Linked DNA regions of Homo sapiens: regions 2, 3, 4 and 5 are each linked to region 1. The links are contacts of gene promoters, found by promoter capture Hi-C in blood cells and fetal thymus (Javierre and others, 2016). All regions are on one chromosome and are shown on one strand. Each heading gives the region's core, a stretch centred on a gene start or on the middle of the fragment in contact. The rest is flanking DNA. Distances are from core to core; before and after follow the strand shown. Region 1 holds the start of TACR1 (tachykinin receptor 1). Region 2 has its middle 84 kb from the start of EVA1A-AS. Region 3 has its middle 130 kb from the start of EVA1A-AS. Region 4 has its middle 160 kb from the start of EVA1A-AS. Region 5 overlaps LOC105374810 (a long non-coding RNA gene).

What was found. Contacts are between HindIII fragments. The CHiCAGO score rates a contact against its expected background, and 5 or more counts as called.
Region 2: a contact is called between a fragment that was not itself captured here and the fragment with the promoter of TACR1 in region 1, in 3 of 17 cell types (megakaryocytes, erythroblasts and total B cells). The highest score is 8.1, in megakaryocytes.
Region 3: a contact is called between a fragment that was not itself captured here and the fragment with the promoter of TACR1 in region 1, in 4 of 17 cell types (megakaryocytes, erythroblasts, total B cells and 1 more). The highest score is 11.9, in megakaryocytes.
Region 4: a contact is called between a fragment that was not itself captured here and the fragment with the promoter of TACR1 in region 1, in 3 of 17 cell types (megakaryocytes, total B cells and erythroblasts). The highest score is 9.2, in megakaryocytes.
Region 5: a fragment that was not itself captured here is called in contact with the fragment with the promoter of TACR1 in region 1 in 1 of 17 cell types (megakaryocytes); the score reaches 6.8 in megakaryocytes.

What each region holds. Positions count from the first base shown.
Region 1 is chr2:75,197,706-75,201,028 of GRCh38, reverse strand. TACR1 (tachykinin receptor 1) reads left to right here and starts at 1,509. Exons shown (of 5, transcript NM_001058.4): 1 at 1,509-2,483. The coding sequence starts at 2,095. The region is part of intron 2 of TACR1-AS1 (TACR1 antisense RNA 1); the gene reads right to left. The HindIII fragment of the contact is 965 bases long and covers 905-1,869 here.
Region 2 is chr2:75,437,907-75,441,229 of GRCh38, reverse strand. No RefSeq gene overlaps it. Among named protein-coding and RNA genes, the nearest start is that of EVA1A-AS, 84 kb to the left of the region's middle. The HindIII fragment of the contact is 3,404 bases long and covers 1-3,291 here.
Region 3 is chr2:75,388,036-75,391,358 of GRCh38, reverse strand. No RefSeq gene overlaps it. Among named protein-coding and RNA genes, the nearest start is that of EVA1A-AS, 130 kb to the left of the region's middle. The HindIII fragment of the contact is 2,840 bases long and covers 343-3,182 here.
Region 4 is chr2:75,364,552-75,367,874 of GRCh38, reverse strand. No RefSeq gene overlaps it. Among named protein-coding and RNA genes, the nearest start is that of EVA1A-AS, 160 kb to the left of the region's middle. The HindIII fragment of the contact is 1,770 bases long and covers 621-2,390 here.
Region 5 is chr2:75,344,617-75,347,939 of GRCh38, reverse strand. LOC105374810 (a long non-coding RNA gene) reads right to left here. Exons shown (of 4, transcript XR_007087112.1): 1 at 1,863-3,323; 2 at 1,098-1,327; 3 at 517-586; 4 at 1-98. Among named protein-coding and RNA genes, the nearest start is that of TACR1, 150 kb to the right of the region's middle. The HindIII fragment of the contact is 1,927 bases long and covers 514-2,440 here.

The sequences.
Region 1 (3,323 bases), core at 260-2,759:
ATACGCTAAAATCCCAGGCTCCGAAAAAATACAGAGTGAAACAGCAGATTCTCCTCCCCGGCGTGGGATCCAATTTTTGCCCGGCATAAGTGTATAGTAAATTTCCCAGCCTTAAAGCACTTCCCGAGAGATGCTTTGAGCGCTCGCGGTACCAGTGCGTAAACGCCGCTCCCCGGCTGGCGCGGGTGTGCGCCAACTCCAACCTGCGCGCAAGTCTGCCGGTGCGCGCTCCAGTCCCACAGCTCCGAGTCCCCGCAGTGAAAGGAGGGGGCGGTGCACCGGGGTAGATGGGCCCCTGAGGACTCCCGGGGTTCAGTTTTCCGCGGAACTCTGCCTGCAGCAGTCTGGCGGGAACGTGCTGCGGAGCTCATCCCATCTTGGCTTCTCCAAAAGGGTTTATACGGACTGGCGAGTCTTTGCCCTGCCTCCTCCAAGTGTCTGGCACCAGTTCTACCGTTTGAAATGGTCTTGGACTGGGATACGAGGCCTCAAAGTCAGAAGACGGCAGGGCAGGATGGAGGCGGGCAGAGAAGGCTGGCTGACCTGTCCTCCAGCCCCTATGCAAACCTGGAAGGGGAACAGGGAGAAGGACCACCGATGCCACCCCGAGCCCGGCTCTGGCCTGCAGGCTTGGCAGGCGCGGAGGCGGAGGCTGCCAGGTCCCCGGGAGGCAAACGCAGCGCCGCAGTGATTGCTGGCGGAGAGCCCAGAGCCGCGCGTCTGAGCGACAAGCTGCCTATGAGTGTGGCTCCTGCGCTCACCAAGATTCGCAGGGAGCTCAGCCCTGTCCCCAGTGATTGAGCAGAGGCTCATCCAGAGGGGTCAGGTGGAGGGCTCAAATGGAGCTTCTCCTGGAACGAGGGGCCAAGTCACCAGGGTGGCTGAGGAAAGTGTCCTCAAAGCTTAGAGACTGTCACTTCCCAGGTGAATCAGCTAGCCAGGTAACTGAGCTAGATATTTTGTGGGGGTGTTTCCTAAACACAGCCTCAGGAAAGTTGTTTTCGGGACACCTGGACCAGGGAGTCGTCGCCTCTGGCTTCTCGGTAGCTGGAGCGCGGCCCGGAGCGCGGCGCTGGCACATCGCCCCCACACATGACCGTTTCCCATTGCCACAGGCAAGCCGCCTCTGCAGAGCTGTCTCAGGGCTCTGGGCTTCATTCCCTGGAAGTTGATTGTCCTCCACTCCAGCTGTTTCCCAAATCCTTCCTTCCTCCCAGCACCCCTCGTGCAACGACGATTCCAGCTGCGGACCGCATCTGTGTCAGTTACTTCCAAGCCACCTACTGCCCCCTCGCGGAGTGCGTGGGGCTCCCGGCTCGCAGACTCCCACGGCAAGTAGCAAGCAGCAAAAGGCGTGGTAGCTGCGGCGGTGGAATGAGACAGTTGTCAACAGCTGGCGCAGCTGCCGCGCTGCGCACCGGGACTGGCGAGTACGCAGCCCAGGTACTGCCCCTTCCCAGTGACGTCTCTGCAGGGGGTTATAAAAGCCTCGTGCGCAGCTAACTCGCGAGCTGAGCAACCCGAACCGAGAGGTGCCCGCGAAACTGCAGGCGGCGGCAGCGGCAGCAAAAGAGAAGGAAAAATCTCCAGCTGGATACGAAGCTCCAGAATCCTGGCCATAGGCTCAGAACTTTTACAGGTCGCGCTGCAATGGGCCCCCACTTCGCTCCTAAGTCCTCACGCAGCACAGGGCTTTGCCTTTCCCTGCGGAGGAAGGAGAAATAGGAGTTGCAGGCAGCAGCAGGTGCATAAATGCGGGGGATCTCTTGCTTCCTAGAACTGTGACCGGTGGAATTTCTTTCCCTTTTTCAGTTTACCGCAAGAGAGATGCTGTCTCCAGACTTCTGAACTCAAACGTCTCCTGAAGCTTGAAAGTGGAGGAATTCAGAGCCACCGCGGGCAGGCGGGCAGTGCATCCAGAAGCGTTTATATTCTGAGCGCCAGTTCAGCTTTCAAAAAGAGTGCTGCCCAGAAAAAGCCTTCCACCCTCCTGTCTGGCTTTAGAAGGACCCTGAGCCCCAGGCGCCAGCCACAGGACTCTGCTGCAGAGGGGGGTTGTGTACAGATAGTAGGGCTTTACCGCCTAGCTTCGAAATGGATAACGTCCTCCCGGTGGACTCAGACCTCTCCCCAAACATCTCCACTAACACCTCGGAACCCAATCAGTTCGTGCAACCAGCCTGGCAAATTGTCCTTTGGGCAGCTGCCTACACGGTCATTGTGGTGACCTCTGTGGTGGGCAACGTGGTAGTGATGTGGATCATCTTAGCCCACAAAAGAATGAGGACAGTGACGAACTATTTTCTGGTGAACCTGGCCTTCGCGGAGGCCTCCATGGCTGCATTCAATACAGTGGTGAACTTCACCTATGCTGTCCACAACGAATGGTACTACGGCCTGTTCTACTGCAAGTTCCACAACTTCTTTCCCATCGCCGCTGTCTTCGCCAGTATCTACTCCATGACGGCTGTGGCCTTTGATAGGTGAGATTAGCCTTTGTGAAAAGGCGAGAAAGTGCTCATAGAGGACCACGGCATTGCTGTGAGGTTTGGAACTGGGTGGGGTATGGGTCAAGTGGAAGATTGGCCACTCTGAGGGTTTTTTTACTGATCAACTGAGTCATTTGTTGATGGGGAACTTCATCTTATGTATTTCAACTTTTTTTCCTCTTTTTTACCCATCACTCTCTCTCTTCCTTTCAACACACATCCCCCTTTTCTTCATTTAACTCCCCTTTCTTCATCTCTTCTCCACTCATCTTCCTGACACTTTCAACTTCTGCTTTGCTCCTTTCCATATATTCCTTCTCCCCTTTACCCTTGCAGGCTGCAAACAATACCTAGGGTTTGGTCAAAGGACTAGACCCTGGAAGGGGCTTTGTAAATTCCTCCAGGCCTGTTTTTCTGTCAGACAGCCTCTTGTTGCCTTCCTGTTTTAAGTACACCTAGAGGATTCTGGGACTTTCTGCTCCCACTGCAACTCTCCAGTTTGTTGTTGTAGTTGTTGTTGTTGTTTGGTTGGTTGGTTCGTTGGTTTGTGTTTGTTTGTTTGTTTGTTTTGGATGTGAAAGAGCATTTCATCAGTATCATAAGATACTCAGAATTCTAATGCAGTTTACTCTGTAATGCTAGGAATTCTCATTCAGGAATGAGAGACAGTTATGCTATCCTTAAGAAACTCCACGGATAGGGATCCAGGAAGCTTACCCAAGAGGTGTTCTAAATTTCTCCTGCAATGTAAAATGTATGTATTTAGCCTGTCTCTATCCACAGAGAAACATGCTTGGCAAAGGCATTTGAGAGCTCTTCTGTTCCGGCAACCAA
Region 2 (3,323 bases), core at 340-2,839, 240 kb before region 1:
TAAGAAAAAAAAAGTTTCATCTTATCACAGTACATGTATGTGTTTGTGTGTGTATGCGTGTGTATATATGTGAATATATATCTCATATATTTGAGAAAAAGTTTCAAAAGCAATACCTACCTTCACTATATGCAATGCATGATTCTATTCTATCTCATTTTAAGAAAGTGCATCTAGTTATAATTCACAAAATTGCATTCAAGACCAAATATATACTAGAAATGCGATTTATTTTCATCCATTGGCAGCATTTGCTGATGATCACATGATGGTAGCATTTACATTTGATTGCTCCATCAGCCAGTGCAAGAGCTCCTTGCATTGTATTTGACTTTCCTGGTGGTCTCTTTTTCATGTTGGCTTCTTTTTGGTGCAACATAGCCATGTTTAGATGAGTATATACCGTTATATTAATAAAATAAATGTCAAATCAAAAGATTTATATGGGTAATTTTTAAATTGTTTCAATGTCAGGAGCACCTAGAAGTCAGGATACTCTTTTCAGAATACTTTAGATTTGGTAAATTTAAGGTCATGATTGACAAATAGTGTGTGTATTTATTTAATGAAAATACATTCCCTATGCCCCCCAAGAATGCTGGTTTTTAAATTGTTCATTTGATATTTTCTAGGTCTCACTGGCAGCAAGCAGAGGCAGTTTCCTATGATTAACAGATATTTACTGGATGTAAAAAGTAAAATTTAGAAGTTCTATCCATTTAAGTTTTGATTAATTGGAGAAAGGCTGATTTGTTGATGTCTTTTTAATTTTAGCTCTTTGAATTTTAGCTCAAGGAATGTCATTTGTCTTCAGGGGCATATTTTGAGAGGCAAATAATGGACACTGTGTTCCTAGCCCCTGGGTTCTACCTGCACATCCCACTCATGCAATTTAAAGACATCTCAGTGCTGTTTGGTTTGTTAATTCTATTATGAGATACGTATTCTAGAGAAATCATCAGAATTACAGAAAATGATTCATGTGCACAGTGGTCATCATTTCATTATTCATAATGATGTAAAATTGGGAACAACCTTAATTTCCAATGCTGGGGGATGGTTCAGTAAGCCATGCTGTGTCCATAAGAATAGAGATGTCCCTGATGTGCTGTTAGAGAATAAAGGCAGGAGGCTGAACTGAGCACAGAATTTACAATCTACATCGTTAAAACATGAAATCTGGCAGTAAATAACCAAAGTGCAAATGGCAATACCTTCTATATTCTAAAACATTGATTCTCAACTGAGATAATTTTTTTTCTGTCGGGGGGACATTTGACAATGACTGAAGACAGTTTTTGGATGCCATGAGTGGAGTGAAATGCTACTGGCATCTACTGGGTGGAGACCAGTGATTTTCCTTATCATCCTGCAATGCACAGGATGGACCCCACAGGATGGCAAAGAATTAACTATCCCAAAATGTCAATACTGCTGAGATTAAGAAACCCTACTCTAGGAGCATGAGCTGTTTTAGTTTTCTTCACCATACTTTTATCAGCATTTTTCAAATGTTTGTTTTTAACAATAAGCATATAGTACCCTTATTATTAGAAAAATACATGAGTAATATGTGATTAAGAAGTCTGTCTAACTAATAAGTTTAAAAGAGCTCATTTAGTAAGGGCAAAGTAAAAATTCTAAGAGATAAATCACTGTGTTTTGATTCAACTGGCAGAGTTTTGTTTTGTTTTCTGCCTTTGTGGTATATAAATGTCTTCCAATTGACGGCATCTTAGATGAATGAAATACAGCATTTTCCAGCTGGGGAGAGGTTTTCTCTGGAGAGCTATTCCTACATTCCTAGCACTCCTTCCTTCAGGTTCTGAGTTTCTGTGGTGTTTTTTCCTTTTCTAATTGGTTTTCTTCTTACCTCTCTAATGCTATTTTCCAGACTTTCCTCTCTGGTTTTCAGCAGGTGAAGTAGCAGAGTTCCCAGGGTTTTGTGCTCAGATCTGTAGGTATCTGTTTCTGTGGAGGCTCCTTTGGGACTGTTACCCCTCTCTGGGCTCATTCCTTCATAAAGCTGCAGAGCTGACATGCAACTTCAAGTCTGTGAATTATTCCTTCTGAATATTTTTTGAATGTGTTCTTTCTCTATTGATACTGACCCCATCATGGTTGAGGCTTTTTTCGTCATTCTCCCTTACTATACCAATCAGTTTTCTTAATTTAGTTTTTTTTTAAATTAAAAGTTTCTATTTGAACGTAATAGTAGACTCACATGTAGTTGTATGAAACAATACTGAGAGATCCCATGTACCCTTTACCCAGTTTCCCTAGTGGTAACATCTTGAAAACTAATGTACAGTATCACAACCAGGATATTGACGTTAGAGTCAAGATACAAACCATTCTCCTTACCACAAGGAACCTTCAGGTTGCCCTTTAAGGGCCACATCTCCTCCTTAACCCTGGCAACTACTAATTTGTTACCCACTTCTATAACTTTGTCATTTAAAAAATATTTTATAAATGAACATAGAGTATATGACCATATGAGATTGGCTGTTTTTCTCCACTCGTCGTAATTCTCTGGTGATTCATCCAGGTTGTTGAGTGTATCCATAGTTCATTTGTTTTCAGTTGCTGAGTAGTATTCCGTAGTGTTGATGTACCACAGTTTGTTTAACCATCTATCCACTGAAGAATATCTAGGTTGTTTCTAATTTTTGGCTATTATGAATAAAGCAGCTATAAATATTTGTATACAGGTTTTTTGTGTGAATATATGTCTTCATTTTTCTATAATAAATTTCTGGGAGTACAGTTACTGCGCTATATGGTAGTTGCATGCTTAGTTTTTAAAGAAATTGCAAATTGTTTTCCAGAGGATTTGTACCAATGGCAATATATCGGTGACCCAGATTCTTCACATCCTTGCCAGCATTTGGTGGTGTCATTCTTTTCTTTTTTTTTTTTTTTTTAGGATAGATATATTTTATTTCATGAAGACAATAATTCACTTTACAGCAATGAAAATGAATAAATTATAGCTGGCATGTAACAAAATTGTTAAATTTCAGAAACAATGCTAAACAGAAGACAGAATCAGAGTACATACTGTATGATAGCAGTTCAAAAGCAGGCAAATCTGATGTATAGGGAACATGTTAGTAAGTGATAAAATTGTGAAGCAAACCACAGCAGTTACTTTAAAAGCCAAGAGTGGTTACCTTTATTTTTTAATAGAATATTTTTATTTGTGTATTTCTTTAATTTGAAAATTTTCAAAGATGTCTATACTCAAAGAAAATGTCAAAATAGTCTCCAGATTCTTTATCCAAAGCTTTTGGAAGCGTTCAATAATAGGTTGTGTGTTA
Region 3 (3,323 bases), core at 513-3,012, 190 kb before region 1:
TGGGTAGGCTCAAGCACGTGCATTAAGAGGCAAAACAGCAGAGTATGACCTTCTTCTGGGGGCATTCCACCATAAAAGGGAAGAAAGCCTCAGGTGAGCATGTGTACAACTCCAGTAAACCCACTGTGCATGCTCACCTCCCAAGTACTAGCAGGCCATCATGCATGCAGGCAGCTCACCCTAAGGGAGGAATCAAGGGAAAAGGGGTGCAAAACACCAGATGGCAGTAGCATATAAAATCCTAGGTTCAAGGTCACACTGGGCACTTGACCTCCAAGATGCCCACTTGGGCCTCTTCCAAGTGTACTTTTGTTTCCTTCCTTTTGTTCCTGCTCTAAAGCTTTTTAATAAACTTCACTCCTGCTCTGAAACTTGCCTTGGTCTCTTTTTCTGCCTTATGCCCCTCAGTCAAATTGTTTCTTCTGAGGAACAAGAATTGAGGTTGCTGCAGTTCCAAAGGAATTCACCACCAGTAACATATTTTGGTGCCGGGTGACATGGATAACTTCCACCACTTTCCTAGTGGTAAGAGATCTCTACACCTCACCTTCTTCAGCTAGAGGCATTCAGCCCCTGTATGCAGTTTTCTTCTCCCCTTTCTCTCTCCTCTTTACTAACCAACCTCCAGAACAATTCTTCTTGACCGTAAGTGACTCTGCCCACCTCCTGGTGGGTTTCTCAGCTCGTTCTGATGGGTGGCTCACAGGGGTGGGAAGGAAATTAGGTTCTGCACCAAATAGATCTAAGGTACTAAAATGACCCTCCTGGACAGGAGGCTCAAGTGGTAGGACTAAGGCCTAAAACCATGCAATGTTTTGGGTTTCCTCTGCTTTTTCAACTAAAATCAGCTCTTTCCCAAAGACCTGCACCTCCCATTCTCCTCTTTTCAATGTGTGTATTCCGAGATGGCCTTGCGTACCTGCCAGATCATCCATTTCCAGGGGCAAGTCTCTGTCTTTGCTTTCACTTTGCATGCCATGTGACTTCTTAAACAAATACTCCTTGTTATTCTTGTGCCCACGGCTCTCTGCATATATGCAGCAGCAGAGACATGGGCTCTCTTGTAGATATCCCCTGAAATTGATACTTGTTTTTACCCTAGCAGCTCAAATAACCTCCAGCCCTTCTCCTGCCCATTGGCATATGGCTGGGACAGATACTAATTGGAACTCTGCCTTTGCCAGTTCCTTATGACTTAGTATATGCTTTTTGTTCCTGTTATGCCCCAGGACTGAGTTTTTTGGTGGCTTTCAAAGCAGATTGTCAGCGTGCATACTGGACTTAAATCCTTAAAGGACTCTGGTCCTATAAGGAGTCCACCTATTTTCTTTTCTTCTTTTTTTTTTTTTTTTTTTTTTTGAGACCGAGTCTCACTCTGTCACCTAGGCTGGAGTGCAGTGGTGCAATCTCAGCTCACTGCAAATTCCGCCTCCTGGGTTGATGCCATTCTCCTGCCTCAGCCTCCTGAGTAGCTGGGAATACAGGTGCATGCCACCATGCCAGGCTAATTTTTTTTGTATTTTTAGTAGAGAAGGGGTTTTACTGTGTTAGCCAGGATGGTCTTGATCTCCTGACCTCATGATCCGCCCACCTCAGCCTCCCAAAGTGCTGGGATTATAGGCGTGAGCCACTGTGCCTGGCCTTTTTTTTTTTTTTTTTTCAAGTAAGCACCCCTTTGGGAAGAGGGGAAATTCTTCCTTTGCCATTTTCGAGTTCTTTTCCCACACCTCAAGTCCTCCAGACATTACTACTTTATGTCCAGAGGGCAAATAAATGTTTCCCTCTTGAATCCAAGGGCTGCTGTTTTCACGAGCATGTGAACACTTCCCATGAGTATTGCTCTTACTTTCTCTCACTTCCTCCTGTAGACTCCACTTCTCTTAATCTCTTACACACCCTTATCATGCATCACAACCTTCAAGGTCATATCCCAAGGGAGTGGAGAGGGAAGTACAGCCTCCTTTTGGCAGTTAGCTTTAAAAAACTGGCTTCTCATCTACTTACAAGAACATAGGAAATGGAAATCTAAGAAAAGAGATAATCATCTTATTACCAAAATGCTGTGAGTGAGAGTCACTATAAGGCCAAGGAGATAAGGCTCTAGTCAGGCCCAAGGCTGCACATGCAAGAGACTCACAGAACAGAAATGAAGGGTGGTCTCAGCCTAATGGATTACCATTGGAACACAGATGAAAGATTAGGCGGGGTAACCAGTAAGACCAGTTATTTAGGAACCTCAAGGATGAAGAGGGAACCAAATCTTCACTCCAGATCTCCTCTGTTGTCAAGTAATTGTGATGAGATGGGACCAAGGGTACACAGTAAAGCCGGTTCATTCCAGAACTCAAGGACGATGGGAGATGCCCCATTCAGGATAATAAAAAAAAAAAAAAGGGAGGGACACCTTCTTTTTTCTTTTTCCTTTTCTTCTTCCTCTGTTTTTTTCTTCACAGATTGGTAATTGTATCTCCATCCCACAAAACATGCTGCTCAAATCCATCCCCCAAAACTGCAGTTTAATTCCCCCAAACCTTAAAACAAAAAAACTAGATTTCCTTTGTAATATTGCTTGGCTTAAAAATGAACTGGGAGGAAATTACAAAAGCCAGCCTTGGAACCCAGTGTCTTTGTGCAGGAGGTCCTCAGATTAGCCTCCTCAGTCTTTTATAACTGAGAGCAGAATAAGGAGGTCAAGGCTAAGCCTGTTGGGTAATTGGGGAAAATGACATCCTCTCCCTCCAAAACAAAAGATTCACACCTCTTTATTTTGCTTAAGGGACTAATTATCATTCTCCCACCAGTCCCTGGTAATGTCTAAATGCCCCACACCTCTTTGGGGCAAGACTGTGTGTTCCAAGATCAGTGCTCACTTAATATTTACCTGACCTCTGAATTCATCTTTCTAATAGCCCTATTTCTACAAGGAAAGCTACCTAAATTCTTAGCCAATAACTCCAATACTACCTGGACAATACTACCTCAGGGGTTTAGAAGTAGCCCAAACTTATTTGGGCAAGCCCTAGCAAAAATCTAACTGAGCAATCCTCTTGAAGGGGGATAACTTCTACAGTATGTAGATAACCTCCTTATCTGCTCCCCCTTCACAGGACATGCACAGAAACATGCAGTTAAATCCTTAACTCTTTAATAGAAGGAAGATGACTTTCATCTAATTCAAAGCTTATAAAAGTAAAGAGGAATTTTTGGTAAAGAAGGTTATAAAGAAAAGAGATTCCACTTGAAAACCAGCACAAGAAGAGGATGCCCTCTCTCACCACTCCTATTCAACATAGTACTGGAAGTACCAGCCAGGGAAATCAGGC
Region 4 (3,323 bases), core at 256-2,755, 170 kb before region 1:
ATGGTACTCTGACACTCATAATACCCTGGCTAAAAACTCCTCTCAATCTCTACATTCAGCATACCTGGATAGCTGGAGAGATGGGTAGCAGGCAAAATTTCCACCTGTAGTCCTAGCAAAAGAGACTTCTAAGCCTTCAGTGTTATTGTCTTCTTAGAGCAGAGAGGAGAAAAAAATCCATATCCCCCCTCACAAATCCAGGGAGGAGAGTAACATCATTCAGAAAATAGAAATTGCCTGAGGGTTTTGTTTGCACAGTTGATGCAATCAACCACCCAGCCTCTTTAACTTGTCTGAGCTCACAATGATACTACTTCTGCCCAGGAATTAATTGCTGATTTTTCATTATTATTGAAATGTTCTGAAGTCATTGCGCTGCCAGGTCCTGCAAACTGTGAGCACCAATAATGCCCTGTAATGGCAGGAATGTTTGTTCAGAGCCATGACCTCCTTCCTCTCTAAGCAGTCATCCTGGGGTATCAGATCCTGGTGTTCCAGCATAGGACATATTCCCCCATTTTCAGCATTCTTAAAGAAAAGAAATTCCAAACAAGAATTTCATGTACCACCAAACTAAGCTTCATAAATGAGGGAGAAACAGAATCTTTTCCAGACAAGCTTACCACTAGACCAACCTTACTAGCGATCCTTAAGGGAATTCTAAACATAGAAATGAAAGAACAATACCTGCTACCAAAAAACACACAAGTGCATAGCCCACAGACCCTATAAAGCAACCATGCAATAGAAACTATAAAGCTAAGAGCTTCATGACAGAATCAAAACCTCACATATCAATATTAACCTGAAATGTGAATTGTCTAAATGTTCCACATGAAAGGCACAGAGTGGCAAGTTGGCTTAAAAAAACAAGGTCCATTCATCTCCTGTCTTCAAGAGACTCATCTCACATGTTACTCCCATAGGCTGAAAGTAAAGGGTTAGAAAAAGACCTGTCATGCAAATGTAACAAATAAAAAAGCAGGGATCACGATTCTTATATCAGATAAAATAGACTTTAAACCAATAACAGTAACAAAGAACAAAGAAGGACATTACATAATGATAAAGGGTTCAATTCAACAACAGCACTTAACTGTCTTAAATATATACACACTCCATCCACACTGGAGCCCAGATTCATAAACAAGTACTTCTGGATCTATGAAAAGACTTAGCCACACAATAATAGTAGAGGACGTCAATACCTCACTGACAGCATTAGGCAGATCATCAAGGGAGAAAACAAATAAGTTTTGGGCTTAAATTTTACATTTGACTAATTGGACCTAATAGACATCTCTACAGAATATTCCACCCATCAATCACAGAGTGTACATTTTTCTCATCTGCACATGGAACATACGCCACGATTGACCACATGCTTAGCCATAAAGCCAGTCTCAGTAAATTTTAAACAAATCAAAGTCATACCAAGTGGAATAAATATAGAAATCAATACCAAGAAGATCTCTGAAAACATTGAAATTAAATAGTTGATCCTGAATGACATTTTGGTAAGCAGTAAAATTAAGGCAGAAAAAAATTATTTGAAATAAATGAAAACAGAGACACAACATACCAAAATTCCTGGGATGCAGCAAAAGTGGTATTAAGAGGATACTTTATAGTACTGAACAGCTATCTCAAAAAGTTAGAAAGGGTTCAAATTAATGATGTAACATTACACTTACAAAATCTAGAAAAACAAGAACAAACAAACCCTAAAGCTAGTAGAAGTAAAGAAATAACTAAAATCAGAGCAGAACTCAATGAAATAGAGACCCAAAAGGATAAACAAGATTGATAGACCACTAGCTAGATTAAAAAGGGAAAAAAGAGAGAAGAACCAAATAAGCACAATCAGAAATGATGAAGGTGACATTCCAACCAATCTCACAGAAATATAAAAGTTTCTAAGAGACTATTATGAATACCTCTATGCAAACAAATCAGAAAATGTAGAGAAAATAGATAAATTCCTGGAAACACACTATTTCCAAATATTGAATTAGGAAGAAATTGAAACTCTGAACAGACCAAAATAAAGGTGTGAAATTGAATCAGTAATTTAAAAAAAAACTACCCACCAAAAATAAAGCCTTGGACAAGATGGATTTCACAGCTGCATTCTACCAGATGTACAAAGAGGAGTTGATACCACTCCTACTGGAACTATGTCAAAAAAATCAGGGAGAAAGGACTCCCCCAATATTCATTCTATGAAGCCAGCAATACTCCAATACAAAAACCTGGTGAAAACACAGTAAGAAAAGAAAACTACAGTCCAATATCCCTGACGAGCATAAATGTAAAAATCCTCAACAAAATACTGGCAAACTGAACCTGGCAGCATATCAAAAAGTTAATACATCATAATCAAGTAAGCTTCATTCCTGGGATGAAAGGTTGGTTCAACAAATGCAAATTGATAAATTCATCACATAAACAGAATTAAAAACAAAAGCCATATCATCATCTCAATAGATGTGGAAAAAACTTTGGACAAAATCCAACATCCCTTCATGACAAAAACCCTCAAGAAACTAGGCATCGAAGGACAATTCTTCAAAATAGGTGGCTCACGCCTGTAATCCCAGCACTTTGGGAGGCCGAGGTGGGCGGATCACGAGGTCAGGAGATCAAGACCATCCTGGCTAACACGGTGAAACCCTGTCTCTACTAAAAATACAAAAAATTAGCCGGGTGTAGTGGCGAGCACCTGTAGTCCCAGCTACTCGGGAGGCTGAGGCAGGAGAATGGCATGAACCCGGGAGGCGGAGCTTGCAGTGAGTGGAGATCGTGCCACTGCACTCCAGCCTGGGCAATAGAGCCAGACTCCGTCTCAAAAAAAAAAAAAAAAAAAAAAAAAATCAGAGGCACCTATGACATACCCATAGCCAATATCATAATGAAGGGCAAAAAGCTGGAAGCATTCCTCTTGAGAGCTGGAACAAGACAAGGATGCCCCCTCTCACCACTCCTTCAACATAGTACTGGAAGTCCTAGGTAGAGCAATCAGGCAAAAGAAATAAAAGGCATTCAAACAGGAAAAGAAGAAGTCAAACTATATCTCTTTGTGGATGGCATGATTTTATACCTACGAAACCCTAAAAACTCCACAAAAAGGCTCCTGCAACTCATAAACAACTTCAGTACAGTTTCAGGATACAAAATCAATGTATAAAATCAGTAGCATTTCTATACACCAATGATGTTCAAGCTGAGAGCTAAATCAAGAATGCAATCCCATTTACAATAACTACAAAAAAAATATAGGAATGCATCTCACCAAGGAGGTGAAACATTTCTACAAGAAAAAC
Region 5 (3,323 bases), core at 228-2,727, 150 kb before region 1:
TCCTTTGAAGAACAGACGAGTGCCTGATTCGTCTTCCTCTTGCATTTGTGAGAGCTGTGTCTCTGCCTGCTGCCCCAGGCCCCTGCCCTGGCTTTCACCTAAATAAATGAATGTAAAGTTTAGGCTCCACATCTTAATCTATTTGGGCTGCTATAACAGAACACCTAATACCAGAAAGTAGGTAGCTTATAAACACCAGAAATTTATTTCTAACTGTTCTGGAGGCTAGGAAGTCCAAGATCAAGAAACTAACAGATTTGGTGTCTGGTGAGGGCCCATTCTCTGGTTCATAGATGGTACCTTCTCACTGTGTCCTCGCATGGCAGAAGGGCAAATAATTCTCTTGGCCCCTTTTATAAGGGCACTAATACCATTCATGAGGCTCAATTCTCATGACCTAATGATCTCCCTAAAAATCCCACTTTCTAATCCTATCATCTTGGCAGGTAGGATTTCAACATATGCATTTTGTGGGGGCACAAACAGTCAAAGCACAGCATCCCACCATAAGCTTACCTGCCAACCTGGTCTTTAGTCATTCATTCCTTTATTTAACCATTTCTTCAACAAATGAATGGACAAATATCTGTGGAGAACATGAGCAAGGCTGTGAGGGCACAGTTCCTTATCTTCACAGAGCTTTCAGTCTAGTGCAAGATACACATAAGTAAACAGAAATTTGCAATATCATGTACTAATGCTATTATGGGGGAAATATAGGAAACTATGGAAGCAGGCCAAAGGGTAACTAACCAGGATCGAAAGGCCAAAGGGAGCATCCCTGAGCATTGTGATCAGATGGGAGGGGTGAGTAAGATGTCACCATTTGAAGAGGCAGGTGGGAGGAAGAGAGGAGAAAAGGGAACTCCATGTGCCAAAGTGCAGAGCTGAGAGAAATGATGTGTGCAAGGAGATGGAAGGACTTCATAGTAGGTGCAGACTACAGAGCACTGCAAGAGGTAAGCAGATATGCGGTTGTGGTGTCAGTGTCCACATGCACAGATGGTACCTAGAGGGCAGAGAAGGGAATGGGATGATAGGAGTTCAGGGAGATCTTTATCGTACACAGGACTGCCACCTATTTATCATTCACTCACCACCCCACTCTTTTTCCTATGCTCTATCTTCCTTCTCTGTCTTTTACCCTTCACTTGTACACTGAAAAGAAATGGATTCTTGTCAGTTGCTTTAAGCATGGAGCTGAAAGTCCATCTACGAGGATCTTTATGCTATGCTTATACTCTCCTGTGACAATGGGTAAAGTTTTGTGTGGAGTTATGGGCAGACTGCAGAGATCACCGGCTCATCCTTCTTGGCTGCCTTATGCCTGTGAAAGAAAAAAAGAACATTCAAAAACTTAGAAATCTTACACATACAATTCATTCTAAACTGTGTTGGAAAGACCCTGCACTCAACAGTGAACATGGCTGGGCCTTGTGAACAGGTCAGAGGGTCAGAGGGTGCCAAGCTCTCATTGGAGATCTATCTCCTAGAATGCCTGCCCCTCTGAGTGCTCGATGCATGGTCACGTTCCTGCCTATAGTGGCTTGGGTTAGCACAATAAGCCCCTATTTTTTAGAAAAGTAAACTGAGACACAACACTTGCATATTAGCCACATTTTTGTTTTTCTTATTTTACTTATTACCAGTTATCTGTGACTAAACCAAAATAGCATAGACCCACTCCACATGTAACATGTATCAGTTGATATAAATTAAGGTTTTATTATTGATTTAACTACAGCTGTCTTAATGATAAGTTAATGGTGGAAAGTGTAAGTGTATTTGTGGTTTCCCTCTAAGTAATGTATATCACCTCATTAGTTCAACATGAATTCATCTACCATAAATTGAGGGCTTACTCTGTATAAAATGTTCTGCCAAACACAGGAATGAATGTTCCATGGCATTTGACCTCAGAGAATATACCGTCTGGAGGGAAAGATGAACACATGCATAACTAGCCAATTTCCAAGTCATTCTGTGGTCACACCAACCTGCTTGTGATTGGATTCCCAAATTACACCTCTGGACCTTTCTGTCTCTCTTCTGTCGGCTCAGAACCATCTCTGTGCCTTGCTTCCAGGCCTGCCCTAACATTTCTGCAGCCCAAGGCAAGAGCATAAATGGAAGCACACCTATCAAACATGCATACATTTAAAAGTTATAAATCAAGCCAACAAACTGTTATGTAAAAATGCATTCTGTCTTCCTATGTGACAAATATATCTTCATAATGACCTGAAGGCCAAGCTCAGATTTAGAATTTTCAGGCTCCTTGGATTTTTCCATGCTGGAACTTACTGCTGTAGAATATGCCAGCCCGCTCCACTGCTCTCTGCTCCCTGGCTTTCTCCAATTCAACAAACGCTTTTGGGTATAGATGTATGGACCACTTAATCTAAGCTCCACTCACCCTCCCCAACATCACCCCAAAGCTTGGGCCTAGGGTACACACACTATCAGCACATTCTGGCCTTTAAGAGTACGGACTTGGGGAAAAGTCCAGTGCAGGCCTGGAAGGGAGTTTGGGGATGTTTGGGTAGGGAACTCTGGGGCACTGGGTGGTTGAAACCGGTTCTAGAAAGCAGAAACATAGGGTGGTGCAGAGCTAGAGAAAGGACACAGCAGGATCCTGAAAGCATGGGGTACCCTTCTTGGCCCATGTAAGGACAGTACTGCCAACCCCATTCTTTACTTGTGTGGTGAACTTGGGCTTATTCCTCAAGATCTAATGCAAGTATTTCCTCCTGGCTAAATTCCTATCTTTGTGACATCACAGTCACTATACCTTACACATCCCTTTTGACTGAGGGTTCTGGAAAGCAGAGACTATTTCTGTTTTTCATCACATTTTTGCCCCCAGCACCTACATAGGGGTTAACATTGGAAGAGCTCAATAAATTTCTGTTGAATGAATGCATGAATGTAATCCCAAATAGTGATGTGGAATTGTAATGAAAGATATCAAGTGACCAGGAGGCTCTGGAAGGTCCTCCAAAAGGAGGTGTTATTGGAGCTGAGCTTAGAATGAATGAATAAGATTCTGGGAAAGAATTCAAGGAAGGAATTTCAAAACAGAAGGGAAGATATTTTCCATATACACAACTCAAAATAAAGTGTGTAGACCAAGCATTTCATTCAGATATCTACCTAATATACATGGAAGATATAATCATTTATAGCTTTGCTTAAGATTTTTATTCTGTTTTATTTAAGTAAGTTTTCAAAATCTACACATTGCAAAAGTAGTTGTGGCTCTTTTAAGATCGAGGATGTTCTGCCAGACTGATGAGGCGGGGAAAACGGCTGGAAGCCTGCTA